Linked DNA regions of Homo sapiens: all the other regions are linked to region 2. The links are contacts of gene promoters, found by promoter capture Hi-C in blood cells and fetal thymus (Javierre and others, 2016). All regions are on one chromosome and are shown on one strand. Each heading gives the region's core, a stretch centred on a gene start or on the middle of the fragment in contact. The rest is flanking DNA. Distances are from core to core; before and after follow the strand shown.

Region 1 (2,857 bases), core at 88-2,587, 520 kb before region 2:
GGGGTTTCACCATGTTGGCCAGGCTGGTCTCCAACTCCTGACCTAGTGATCTGCCCACCTCGGCCTCCCAAAGTGCTGGGATTACAAGTGTGAGCCACCGTGCCCGGCCTCTTTCTCTATTTGTATCTTCTTTTGCCAACACTGAGGATGAGATTCTTGTATCTACAATGTATCTTATTTATTTAATCATAGTTTGCACATCAGGTGGTAATAGAATTCCTGTGAGAAAAAGATTTACCATCCAGAGAACAATGTTTGCACAGTTTTTTTTTTCTTTTTGCCTTTAGCCTTGTAGTATCTGTTCAAAAGACTGTTTTCCAAAGAGATTGGTGTGGTTATGTAATTCATTTGTAATACAACTTAGTTTCATTTGTTACTGCTTGTATTCCATTTGGGCTCCCCCATATTTTGGTTTAATTATTTATTGATTTGGGGCAATGTGAAACACTTCTGTAAGAAACAGTCGGAGTTATTCAAGAAGGGAAACTTGGCCGGGCACAGTGGCTCACACCTGTAATCCAGCACTTTGGGAGGCTGAGGTGGGCGGATCACTTGAGGTCAGGAAGGAGTTCAAGATGAGCCTGGCCAACATAGTAAAATACTGTCTCTACTAAAAATACAAAAATTAGCCAGGCGTGGTAGCATGGGCCTGTAATCCCAGCTACTTGGGAGGCTGAGGCAGGAGAATTGCTTGAACCTGGGAGAAGGAGGCTGCAGTGAGCTGAGATCGTGCCACTGCAATCCAGCCTGGGCAATGAAGTGAGACTCTGTCTTTAAAAAAAATAAATAAATAAAGGTAGACTTGTATAGACAACTGTCACTTCCTCCTCACCCTTGTTCCCCACCCCTACTCCCTCCTTCCCTCCCTTGCCACATACCCTCTCTAGGTAATCTGTCTTCTTTGGTCCTGTTTTATCCTTCCAAGTATCTTCTGCACAAGTAAGTGGATATATGTGTATTTTCTTATATCTCCTTCCTTTTTACATCAGTGACAGTATACTACAGATACTCATTTGTATTTAGCTTTTTTCATTTAACAGTATATCCTGAAAACTCCTCTAAATGAGTTCACAGAGATCTTCCCACTCTTTTTGATGGCTATATACTAATCCATGGTGTGGCTACACTATAGCTTACTCATCCACTCTCCCACATATGGGCATTTAGGTTGCCTCCAATATTTTGCAATTACAATGTTGTAATGGATTACCTTGTGTGTCTACGTAGTTTCATATTCTTGGAGGTGTATCTTTAGGGTAGATTCTTAGGAGTGGGTTTCCTGGATCAAAAAGGAAATGCGTATGTACTTTTATTAGATATTGCCAAATTTCTCTCCAGAAGGGTTGTACCAATTTGCATGCCCACCAGCAAGGTATGAGAGAGCCATTTCTCCATATCCTCATCACAGAGTATAATTTCACAGTTTTACATTTTCCCCACTGATAGGTCAGAAATGGTGTCCTAGTGTTGTTACAACTAGCATGTTTATAATGAGGAGGTGAGTTTCAGCGTTTTTCTCATCTGCTTGAGGATGATTTTTAAAACGTGTTTTGGTGAATTATCTGGTCACATCTTTCCCCCAATTTTTCTATCAAAATGTCCTTATTCTTAAAAGATGCCACTGAAATATACATAGATGAGAAGGATCCTGAAGTGTCAAGTCGTTCATTGGAAAAAAAAGTGTGTGTGCGTATGTGTGTGTGTGTGTGTGAGACACAGAGACAGAAAGAGAGAGAGAAAGTTTATCCATCTATCTGAGAGAACAACTGCCCCCCGCTTCCATACACAAAGAGCTAGTTGTCAACAGGCTACTATGTTCCCTTCCATAGCGCTATGGTCTAATGTGTGTGTGCCCCCAAATTTCATATTGTGAAACCTAATCACGATTGTGATGGTATTAGGAGCTGGGGCCTTTGGGAGGTCACTAGGTCATGAGGGATCCACCTTCATGGATGAGATCAGTGCCTGTATAAAAGAAACCCCAGTGAGCTAGCTAGTTCTTCCACTATGTGAGGCTACACAGCAGGGAAACACCATCTACGAACCAGCAAGTGGGTCCTCACGGGCACTGAATCTGCTGGGACCTTGTTCTTGGACTTCCCAGTCTCCAGAACTGTCAGAAATAAATTTCTGTTGTGTGTAATCTACACAGTTTACGGCATTTTGTTTTGGTAGCCCAAATGGACTAAGACATGTAGCAACAGTCAACATAATCTCCCAACCTCCCCTTCCTTTGCCTTCGTGGCTTCTCTATGACAAGACACTCTTGGAAGACCTTAGCTGCCAACAGGCTGAGCACAGCCCTGGGAGTCCCAGCAAACTGGCTGAGAACTTGGGTCTCTAGTCGTTGCTCTGTGAGTGCTGCCAGTGTGTGATGCCCGGCGCCAGATGTCCCAATTGTGTGTGTAAGATGGTGTTTCACTCTTGTTGCCCAGGCTGGAGTGCAATGGCGCAATCTCGGCTCACCGCAACCTCCGCCTCCTGGGTTCAAGTGATTCTCCTGCGTCAGCCTCCTAGCTAGGATTACAAGCACGTACCACCATGCCTGGCTAATTTTGTATTTTTAGTAGAGATGGGGTTTCACCATGTTGGTCAGGCTGGTCTCAAACTCCTAAGCTCAGGTAATCCACCTGCCTTGGCCTCCCAAAGTGCTGGGATGACAGGTGTGAGCCACTGTGCCCGGCCCAGATATCCCAATTTACTTGAGGATCCTGCCCAGCCAAAGTCCTAAAGGTGGGTTACAAGCCCTTGTCACTCTCCTTCAACTCACAATGTTTCACACACACACACACACACACACACACACACACTTGCTGTATTAAAGCAACTCTCTTTTTTTCAAATAAAATGGTAATAT
Region 2 (2,700 bases), core at 25-2,524:
TTTTTTTTTTTCCTCATAAATGGACTAGGAATATTACTCCTACCTACCTGGCATGGCCGATGTGCGAGAAAATGAGATAATCTCGTGGACAGGCTCTGAAAACTGCACTTTTACTGAGTAAAAAACCCTTTGCCTCTCCGGGCCCCCGTTTCCCCATCTGTAAAATGAGTCTGTAAAGTGAGAATGATACTCCCTACGCCGCAAGGCTCTTGCGGGTTAAACTGGAATATTATAAATGCACCATTTATTTGCAGATTGAAATTCTGTGCGTCCGGAGGTGGCGGGTGGGAGAGGGAATGAGCAGGGATGCAGGGTAGGCCCTGAGTTGCTGGGGGCTCAGCATGGCCGCTGCGCACATTGCATCATTTTGTCGACACTGGTGTGGGTGAAATCTTCCAAAAGAAATTAAAACAGAAAAAAAAAAAAAGAAGGGTCTGGGACTTAGCAGAAACAAGCCACAATCTCCAGATTCTACTATTCCTGGGCCACGTGAGGAGCGCCCACCCGTCTGGCGCTGCGTTCCCCGGGGCGTCCCAGCCTCTCCCGCCCAGCCCGCCGCCCTCCTCCCCCATGGCCACCAAGGTCAGGCTCTCGCAGGGAAAACGTCTTCAGGGGCTAAACATCGGTTTTAAACGAAATGGAAAACCTCCAACACGAATCAACAGCAGAGGAAAAGCAGACGCCAAACAAGCGCTCAGAACCCCTTCAGGGGCGGCGTGGTAGCTCTTCCCGGGGAACAGCGAGGGGCGCGGATGTCCCTCTTCCTAAAACTGCACGCGGGGTGCGATCCGAGACCCAGCGGCGGCGAGCGCGCCCGAGTCTGCTCGCGGGCGCCAGGCGCGCGGAGAGCGGCGGCTGCGCCTGCGCCAACGCCGTCAGTCCGCGGGGCCCGATCCCGACACCTAACTCCACAGAGAAGCTCTGCTCCTAAGGGAAAGGGAAGACTTCAGCCACAGTTTCGCAGCCAACCTGGCGACCTCACCTCTCTGGCGACCTCACTTCCCAGCCGGCTCCGTTTAAGAAAACCCCGCGCAGGACCGCGCCCGCCCCCGCGCCCGCGCCCGCCCCCGCCCCCTCGCGCCCGCCCCCTCGCGCCCGCCCCCTCGCGCCCGCCCCCTCGCGCCCGCCCCCTCGCGCCCGCCCCCTCGCGCCCGCCCCCTCGCGCCCGCCCCCTCGGGTAACAAACATGGCCCCCGGCGGGGCGGAAGCGCTTCCGCCCCCAACGAAGATGGCGGAGGGGGCGGGACTAAAAGGGCGTAGGTAGATCGCCGGGGGCTGACGAGTGCACCATGGCCACCGCGGCAACCTCACCCGCGCTGAAGCGGCTGGATCTGCGCGACCCTGCGGCTCTTTTCGAGACGCATGGAGCGGAGGAGATCCGCGGGCTGGAGCGCCAGGTTCGGGCCGAGATCGAGCACAAGAAGGAGGAGCTGCGGCAGATGGTGGGCGAACGGTACCGCGACCTGATCGAGGCGGCCGACACCATCGGCCAGATGCGCCGCTGCGCCGTGGGGCTAGTGGACGCCGTGAAGGCCACCGACCAGTACTGCGCCCGCCTCCGCCAGGCCGGCTCGGCCGCGCCCCGGCCACCGCGGGCCCAGCAGGTCAGTCCCCGTGCCCCCACCCTGCGACCCGCAGGCGGGTCCCGGAGCCCCTGGCCTTGCAGGTCAACCCCGCCCCCCTCTGTCAGTCCCAGACCCCGCGAGTCCTCACCTTCCTTAGCCAGGAGCCTATCCGCCCCTCACCCTTTGGGCCCCCCTCAGAGGACAGTGCCAGCCTTCCTTGCACATATGCGGCTGCTGATCCGTTCTGGAAATGCCATTCAACAGTTTCTTCAGGCGCTTTCCCCCGACTTCCGGGCCTTGATTCCTACACCTCACTGGGCTCCTTTCAATTTTAGCGGAAAACGCCAGGAGTTTCTGTCTTGACAGTTCAACGCTCACCTATATAACATGTCCTGACATTGTTTTTCCTCAGGTTTCTCCCCTATGTTGACACCTGCACTCCAAGTCATTTCTTCCTCATCCCAACCTTCCCCTTATCTCCCCAAGAATAACTTCCACAACCCCAAATAGCTGTTCTACCCTTTGGGAGTTGTTGAGGGTACCAGCTATCAAGCCCTTAACTTTATGTATGTATGTGACAGGGTCTCCCAAAGTGCTGGGATTACAGTCATGAGCCACCACAGCCGGCCAAGCCCTTACCTTTTAATAGCTGAACATTTTCATTTTCAGAACTAAGGCTTTTTTCATTCAGGTTCTCCTTATCCCGTGTTCTTCCCCCCAAACGCTATTGATTAGACACAATGAGGAAGGATGGGAGGTAAACAAACACATCCTCATATTGGAGCTGCAGCTTGCGTTCCTAAAGAATTTTTATTGGCCGGGTGCGGTGGCTCACGCCTGTAATCCCAGCACTTTGGGAGGCCGAGGCGGGTGGATCACGAGGTCAGGAGATCCAGACCATCCTGGCTAACACGGTGAAACCCCGTCTCTACTAAAAATACACAAAATTAGCCAGGCGTGGTGGCCGGCGCCTGTAGTCCCAGCTACCTGGGAGGCTGAGGCAGGAGAATGGCATGAACCCGGGAGGCGGAGCTTGCAGTGAGCCGAGATCGCGCCACTGCACTCCAGCCTGGGCCACAGAGCGAGACTCTGTCTCAAAAAAAAAAAAAAAAAGAATTTTTATTTCTTTATTTTT
Region 3 (3,080 bases), core at 235-2,734, 530 kb after region 2:
ACCACGCAATTTTGACAGATGATTCTCATGAGAAACTTTCAGTTTCCATTTGATTATGGGCCCATAAACACAGATTGCAATTGAACAGAGTTAGGGCTCTGCCTGGATTGGACCTGCCAGGGCTCAGGGAGCCTTACTGGATGGCTCTGGCCTGCCTGTCACCTGCTGGTTCTGAGCTGCTGCCTACAGCTATGCATGTGTTGTGATGTGGCTGTTGGACGTATCCACATGCATCTCTTATGTGGGCATCTGCCTCTCCCATTAGCCTGGGCAGGGATTGTCTTTCCGATGGATCATCTAATCCTACCATCTTTGGGTGGTAGTTGTCCCTGCTGGTTATAGGAGGTTTCAGCTAACTTTGGTTTAGGGTTCACCATCTTGCTTTTACTTTTTCACTCACTCACTCATTCATTCATTCACCATTTGACATTATTGAGCAGCTGTCATGTGTCAGAATACGGACTTAGTAATACCAGGCGGACTCAGGGATACCAAGAATAAAGTCTCACTGCTAGCGTCAGAGGAGTCATACTTAAGACCGTGTCACATGCATTAATTTAGAAAAACGTTCAGGGAGCTAAGAGAACACAGAGGATAAACCCCTAGGCAGGAGGGAGAAGCCAGCCTGGGCTACCAGGAAGGGAGGCTGTTCACTCAATTCATCTCAGCAAGTGTCTGGAGTAGCTGCACTAGGCTAGACCCCCAGAGGATTAGACAGAGATAGTGCAGTGGCACAAGCTAGACCACCTGAGGATTAGACAGAGATAGTGCAGTGGCATAGGCTAGACCACCTGAGGATTAGACAGAGCTAGTACAGTGGCATAGGCTAGACCACCTGAGGATTAGACAGAGATAGTGCAGTGGCACAGGCTAGACCCCCTGAGGATTAGACAGAGATAGTACAATGGTGTAGGCTAGACCCCCTGAGGATTAGACAGAGATGGTGCAGTGCCAGTGTTCCTACCCCCATATTGCTTATCATTGTTGAGTATTTCTTCCAGCATTCTAGGATAAGACTGCTTCTTTCTCATTCCCCCTGTGGGGTAAATATTAGGAGTTGCTTCAGGACCCTTGAGCAAGGGGACAAGACAAACCTATAGCAGAGTGACACCTGCGGGGTCTGGAGTCTTCAGCTGGAATGAATTCAACAAATACTCACCTTGTGCCAGGCACTGTTCAAAGCACTGGGCAAGCAGAAGAGCCAAAGAGGCAAAGTCCATATTCCACTGGGGAGAAAGAGAAAGAGATCATCGTCGAAGGCGCACGTGCATAGGTCAAGTGCATAGGGTCAAGTGCAGAGGAGTGCAAGGAAGAGACTTCAGTCAGAGAACAGCTGAGAGAGGACGGAGGGCAAGTCCATGTTTATACACAGGCAGAGACGACGGCAGCTTGGACTGTGGTGGCAACAGAGGAAGTGGCTGGAGGTGACTGGACTGTAGATGCATTTTGAAAGTAGAGCTTTTAGAGCGAGGGGTGTGGGAGACAGAGAGGAGTGGAGGATGATTCGAGGGTTTCCAGCTTGAGAACTGGGGAGTGAGTTGCTGTTTACTGAGGCAGAGGAGCCTGGGAGAGAAACAGGTTTGGGGGAAGCCACTTCTGTCCCATAACTGTAGCACTTGACGGTTGTCCCAGGGGACTCTCACGTGCCCCCCCCGCCTCCCCCGCCTCACAGTTCCTGACCGGTGCTGTGATGTGCCCTGTCTTTTTGTGACCCCTGCGTCGGCCTTTCTTCCTCGGCTGATGCACCATTTGCACTGACCTCTGTGCTGCAAATGCAGCAGCCAGGCTTTTTGCACAAGCCTTTTTGCTCAAGGCCAGTTGCTGCTGGGAGAAAATGCCTGTCCTTGCAGGGTTCCCCGCCTAGTGCAAACCACAGCACACTGCCACTCAGAGCCCAAGGTGACCTTCCCACCCTGGGCGTGGGAGTCAGGCAATTCAGCACCAGCCCTGGGCCCCCAGGCCTGTGGATGCTGCTGCCTCTTTGCCGTGCTGTGCGCGGCGCCGGCTCCTTGTCCATAGAAACATCCCAGCCCACTCAGCGGCTTGCGAGGCCTCCCGCCCCGGGTCTGGTTTGCACCAGCCTCTTTTGTGTACCAGCTGCTCCGGCCGCCGCTCTTTCATCCCTGCTCCTGGGAGGGCCTGGCTCCGCACCCTGCACAAACACATCTGGACTTCTTCAGACCACATGACAGGAACAGCTGCTGCCAGAAAGAAAAGGACACAGTGGCCCTTTTGTAATCACTCTTGATTGTCTCCAGCCGTAGGGCACTTGTGTTTTGGTCATGGATTTAAGGACTTCCAAGATGTTTCTAGGAGCATATTATTGCCCCAGGCCTGGCTGTGCCTTCTGTGGTCCAGGTGGCAGCAGGAAAGGGTAGAGGCATTGGGACCGAGCAAAGAGGCTCCTGTAAGTGTGTCCTGAGGCTTCCACCTTCTAGGATAGAACAGGGCACACAAGGAGGAAGAAGGCAGCGATGTGGCTGTCACCCGCCGTAGCCACCTGCTGGTATGGCTGACACCAGCCCTGGGCCCCGAGACAACAGCCACTGCAGGCCTTGAGGCCCAGCGCTGGTGCTGAATCTCCTGTCTCCTGTGCACAGGACAGGAAGGTAACCTTGGGCTCTGAGCTAGAATGTGCTGTGGCTTGCGCTAGACGGGGCCTGGTGGCTTCCATGGTCTCCTGTTGACTCCACCTGCCAGTGTCTGCATCTCTTTGCCTGAGGGCTTTTTCTAAAGCTGTAAAAGTTTGCTTTGTCAGAAGAGGGGAAATGAATACCCTCCCCCAGAGCAGCCTACTCAGCTGGTGGCTGAGGGGATTGGGTGTATAAATACCCCAGCTACCTTGCCCTCAGCAGGGAGGACTTGGAGGCATCTGTTCTACAGGTCACCAGAGGACCCCGGAGGACTAAGCTCCAGCTGCCAGCGTGGGTGCTGGCTTGATCCCCTGCTCCTCCTCCTCCTCCCCTGCTGCCTGTCCTCCCTGTGTCCCCTCCCGCCTCCCTGACTGTGGTCTTGTATCTCCTAAAGGTGTACTGGATCCTTCTCCCAGGACCTGCTTTTGGGTGAACCTGAACTAAGAC
Region 4 (2,728 bases), core at 133-2,632, 580 kb before region 2:
AGTCTTAAGTCCACCACAAAGATCTGATCGGTGTAGGTGGGGGAGGATGGGTGGTGGGAGAGAAGAGAGGAATTGTCAAAAGTGCAGTGATTTAGTGTCTGTCTCTTTCTTCCCTTCTCCCTCCCTCCCTCCCATCACCCTGCCTCCTGCACAAGGAACTATTGAGAAGGCACAGAACAAACGCTCCCTTATGCGGCTCCCACGGCGTCTCTCGGTTTGTCGGAGACAGCTGCCCAAAGCACGCTATGGTTACTCATTACCCGGGTTCCCAGGCAGGAAAAGGAGCAAACTTAATAGACTCGAACTAACCCTGAGCTCAAATACTCCAGCCATAAATAAATAAATAAGTCAGGTGTACCAGGGGAAGGGGAGGGAAGTGAACGGGGAATGGCTGGGGAGGGGTCGGCAGTGTAAGCGGACTGAGTGGGGCCGGGTTGCGGGGGCGGGGGTGGCGGTGAACACAACCCAAGAGTTTCTGAAAGGGGAGGGGAAGGATGGAGGGAGGGAGGAAAACTCTTTTCTCCCTTTGGAGGAAGGACAGAGGGTGTTTGTGTTGCTTGCTTGTCCCCGCCTGCAGAGTGGACGAGAGGCTCTCAGCTGGCCATCTGGGGACCTTGCGGAAAACTAGAACTTTGAGGGGAAAGGAAAGAAAGTCCTGTTTCTCCAGCGTGAGATGTGGCTGGGGTTTTGCTTTCCTCCTGACTCACAGAGTAAATGGTTTAGTTCATGGCCATCGAAGTGCCCATTGAACAGATGGGAAGGGCAAGGATGGAGAGAGAAGCAAAGGGACTGAGGGGCAGAGTGACTGTTGGCAGGAAGTCAGTCGTGCTCCAAAACTTTGAAGTCGTCTCTATGAGTGCTCCTCAACCCACACACTTTTGCCCCTCCCCCTACTCTGGAGACACTGGGCAACGTCTGGAGAGGTTTTTCATGGTCACAACTGGGAAGCCAGGGTGGTACTGGCATTTAGTTGGTAGAGGCCAGGATGCTACTCACCACGCTACAAGGCACAGGACAAAACCCTGTAATAAAGAATGATCCAGGCCGGGTGTGGTGGCTCATGCCTGTAATCCCAGCACTTTGGGAGGCCGAGATGGGTGGATCACCTGGATCACCTGAAGTCAGGAGTTCAAGACCCGCCTGATCAACATGGTGAAACCCCATCTCTACTAAAATTACAAAATTAGCCGGGTGTGGTGCCAGGCGCCTGTAATCCCGGGTACTCGGGAGGTGGAGACAGGAGAATCGCTTGAACCCAGGAGGTGGAGGTCGCAGTGAGCCATGATCCAGCCATTGCACTCCAGCCTGGGAAACAGAGCAAGACTCTGTCTCAAAATAATAATAATAATAAAGAATGATCCAGCCTCAAATGTCACAGTGCTGAGACTGAGAAATCCTGCTCAAGATGTAAGTCTCAGAACCCAACCTCCATCCCAGGCTGCCTCTAATTCTGCAGAGGGCATCTGTCAGTCCATAACAGGTCCATAAATTCACTCCTTCTTCCAGGGTGAAGAATGGAGAAAAATCAAAGAACAGCACATGCAACGATGCATTGGTGATCTCCTTCCTGCTAACCCTGTGGCCAAGAACACAAAGCAAACACGACCCCCAACAGAGAAGGCAGGGGAGGAGCCCACCAGTCAAACCAGCATTCCCTAGTCCCCGCCTGATCATTGAACAGACTTGAGGGGGCGCAGCATCTTTTACCTGGTCTCAGAATTTCTGCCAGTCTTGGCATGTTGGGGGCTTGGGAGGTTGCATTTTGGGTTTTGTTTTATGGCTTAATCTGGACCTCAATTCAGTCAAGTCAATGAGAGCAGGGACAGTCCCCAGTCACCATCTCAGGACCATGGCAAAATGTAATGAGCTTTTTCAGGAATTTAAAGTACTCACAGAAGGGCCTTCTGCAAAAATGAAGCATGACCCAATGAGTGTAGCCCAGCGCAGTGAGGGTGGACAACTTCAAGGCCATTGTTTTTCAGGGGGCTGTGGCAGCCAAGAGTTGCTGGGCCCTGTACAACCGTCAAAGTACTCCCAGGAATGCCACTGGTCTTTCCACAGTTGTCCAGGGGTGGAGAATCCACTGAGGGTCAATGACTCTGTTACAGTCATGTCAGTACCTTAAAGGTTTGTGGTGGGGGGCTGTGGAGGAGTTGGGGAGGGATTATATCTGTAGTGTGTGCGTGTATGTGATGTGCATGTGCATGTATGTAATGTGTGTGTAGATGTGTGTGATGTGCAATGTTTGTGCATATGCGTGTGCTTGTACCTGTATGTGATGTGTATGCATGGCATGTATGCATATATATAATGTGTGTGTGTACGTGTGTGCCTGTGTGTGTGTGTATGACACACCAGCTGATCAATGCCAGAACAAGAAGACCAAGGAAGATTCCAGAGATAAGACTGTCCTACATCTCTGATTGATGGGCATCTTTGAAGACGTAGGCTAGCATCTAGAGGCTTCGAGAGGAAGCTCTGCAATTTCAATTCCTGTCTCTGCTACTTCGGAGCTACGTTACCTTGGGCAAGATGTTTAATTTCAGCAAGACCCAGTTTTTCTCGTCTCTGTAGAGGGGCAATAAAAGGACCTACCTGTGGGTTTCAGGAATTAGTGAATTCATGGAAAGCACCTAGCACTGGGCACAGAGCAAGCACACAGATGTTGCCTGTTCCAATTATCACTGCTTCAGGAGACAGTTCTTCCTGGAGTCTAACCTAAGGCTGC

Evidence for each region. The method cuts DNA at HindIII sites, captures the fragments that hold promoters and counts their contacts. A CHiCAGO score of 5 or more calls a contact.
Region 1: a fragment that was not itself captured here is called in contact with the fragment with the promoter of COG1 in region 2 in 1 of 17 cell types (neutrophils); the score reaches 5.7 in neutrophils.
Region 3: a fragment that was not itself captured here is called in contact with the fragment with the promoter of COG1 in region 2 in 2 of 17 cell types (total CD8 T cells and naive CD4 T cells); the score reaches 6.4 in total CD8 T cells.
Region 4: a contact is called between a fragment that was not itself captured here and the fragment with the promoter of COG1 in region 2, in 2 of 17 cell types (M1 macrophages and fetal thymus). The highest score is 5.7, in M1 macrophages.

What each region holds. Positions count from the first base shown.
Region 1 is chr17:72,673,294-72,676,150 of GRCh38, forward strand. The region is part of intron 7 of SLC39A11 (solute carrier family 39 member 11); the gene reads right to left. Among named protein-coding and RNA genes, the nearest start is that of LINC00511, 34 kb to the left of the region's middle. The HindIII fragment of the contact is 6,689 bases long and covers 1-2,857 here.
Region 2 is chr17:73,191,781-73,194,480 of GRCh38, forward strand. It overlaps COG1 (component of oligomeric golgi complex 1), which reads left to right and starts at 1,275. Exons shown (of 14, transcript NM_018714.3): 1 at 1,275-1,604. The coding sequence starts at 1,290. RefSeq lists enhancers at 502-1,261, 547-596, 1,227-1,506 and a silencer at 1,557-1,766. The HindIII fragment of the contact is 5,644 bases long and covers 1-2,700 here.
Region 3 is chr17:73,717,764-73,720,843 of GRCh38, forward strand. No RefSeq gene overlaps it. Among named protein-coding and RNA genes, the nearest start is that of LINC02092, 68 kb to the right of the region's middle. The HindIII fragment of the contact is 6,543 bases long and covers 1-3,080 here.
Region 4 is chr17:72,615,027-72,617,754 of GRCh38, forward strand. The region is part of intron 3 of LINC00511 (long intergenic non-protein coding RNA 511); the gene reads right to left. Among named protein-coding and RNA genes, the nearest start is that of LINC00673, 24 kb to the left of the region's middle. The HindIII fragment of the contact is 4,164 bases long and covers 1-2,728 here.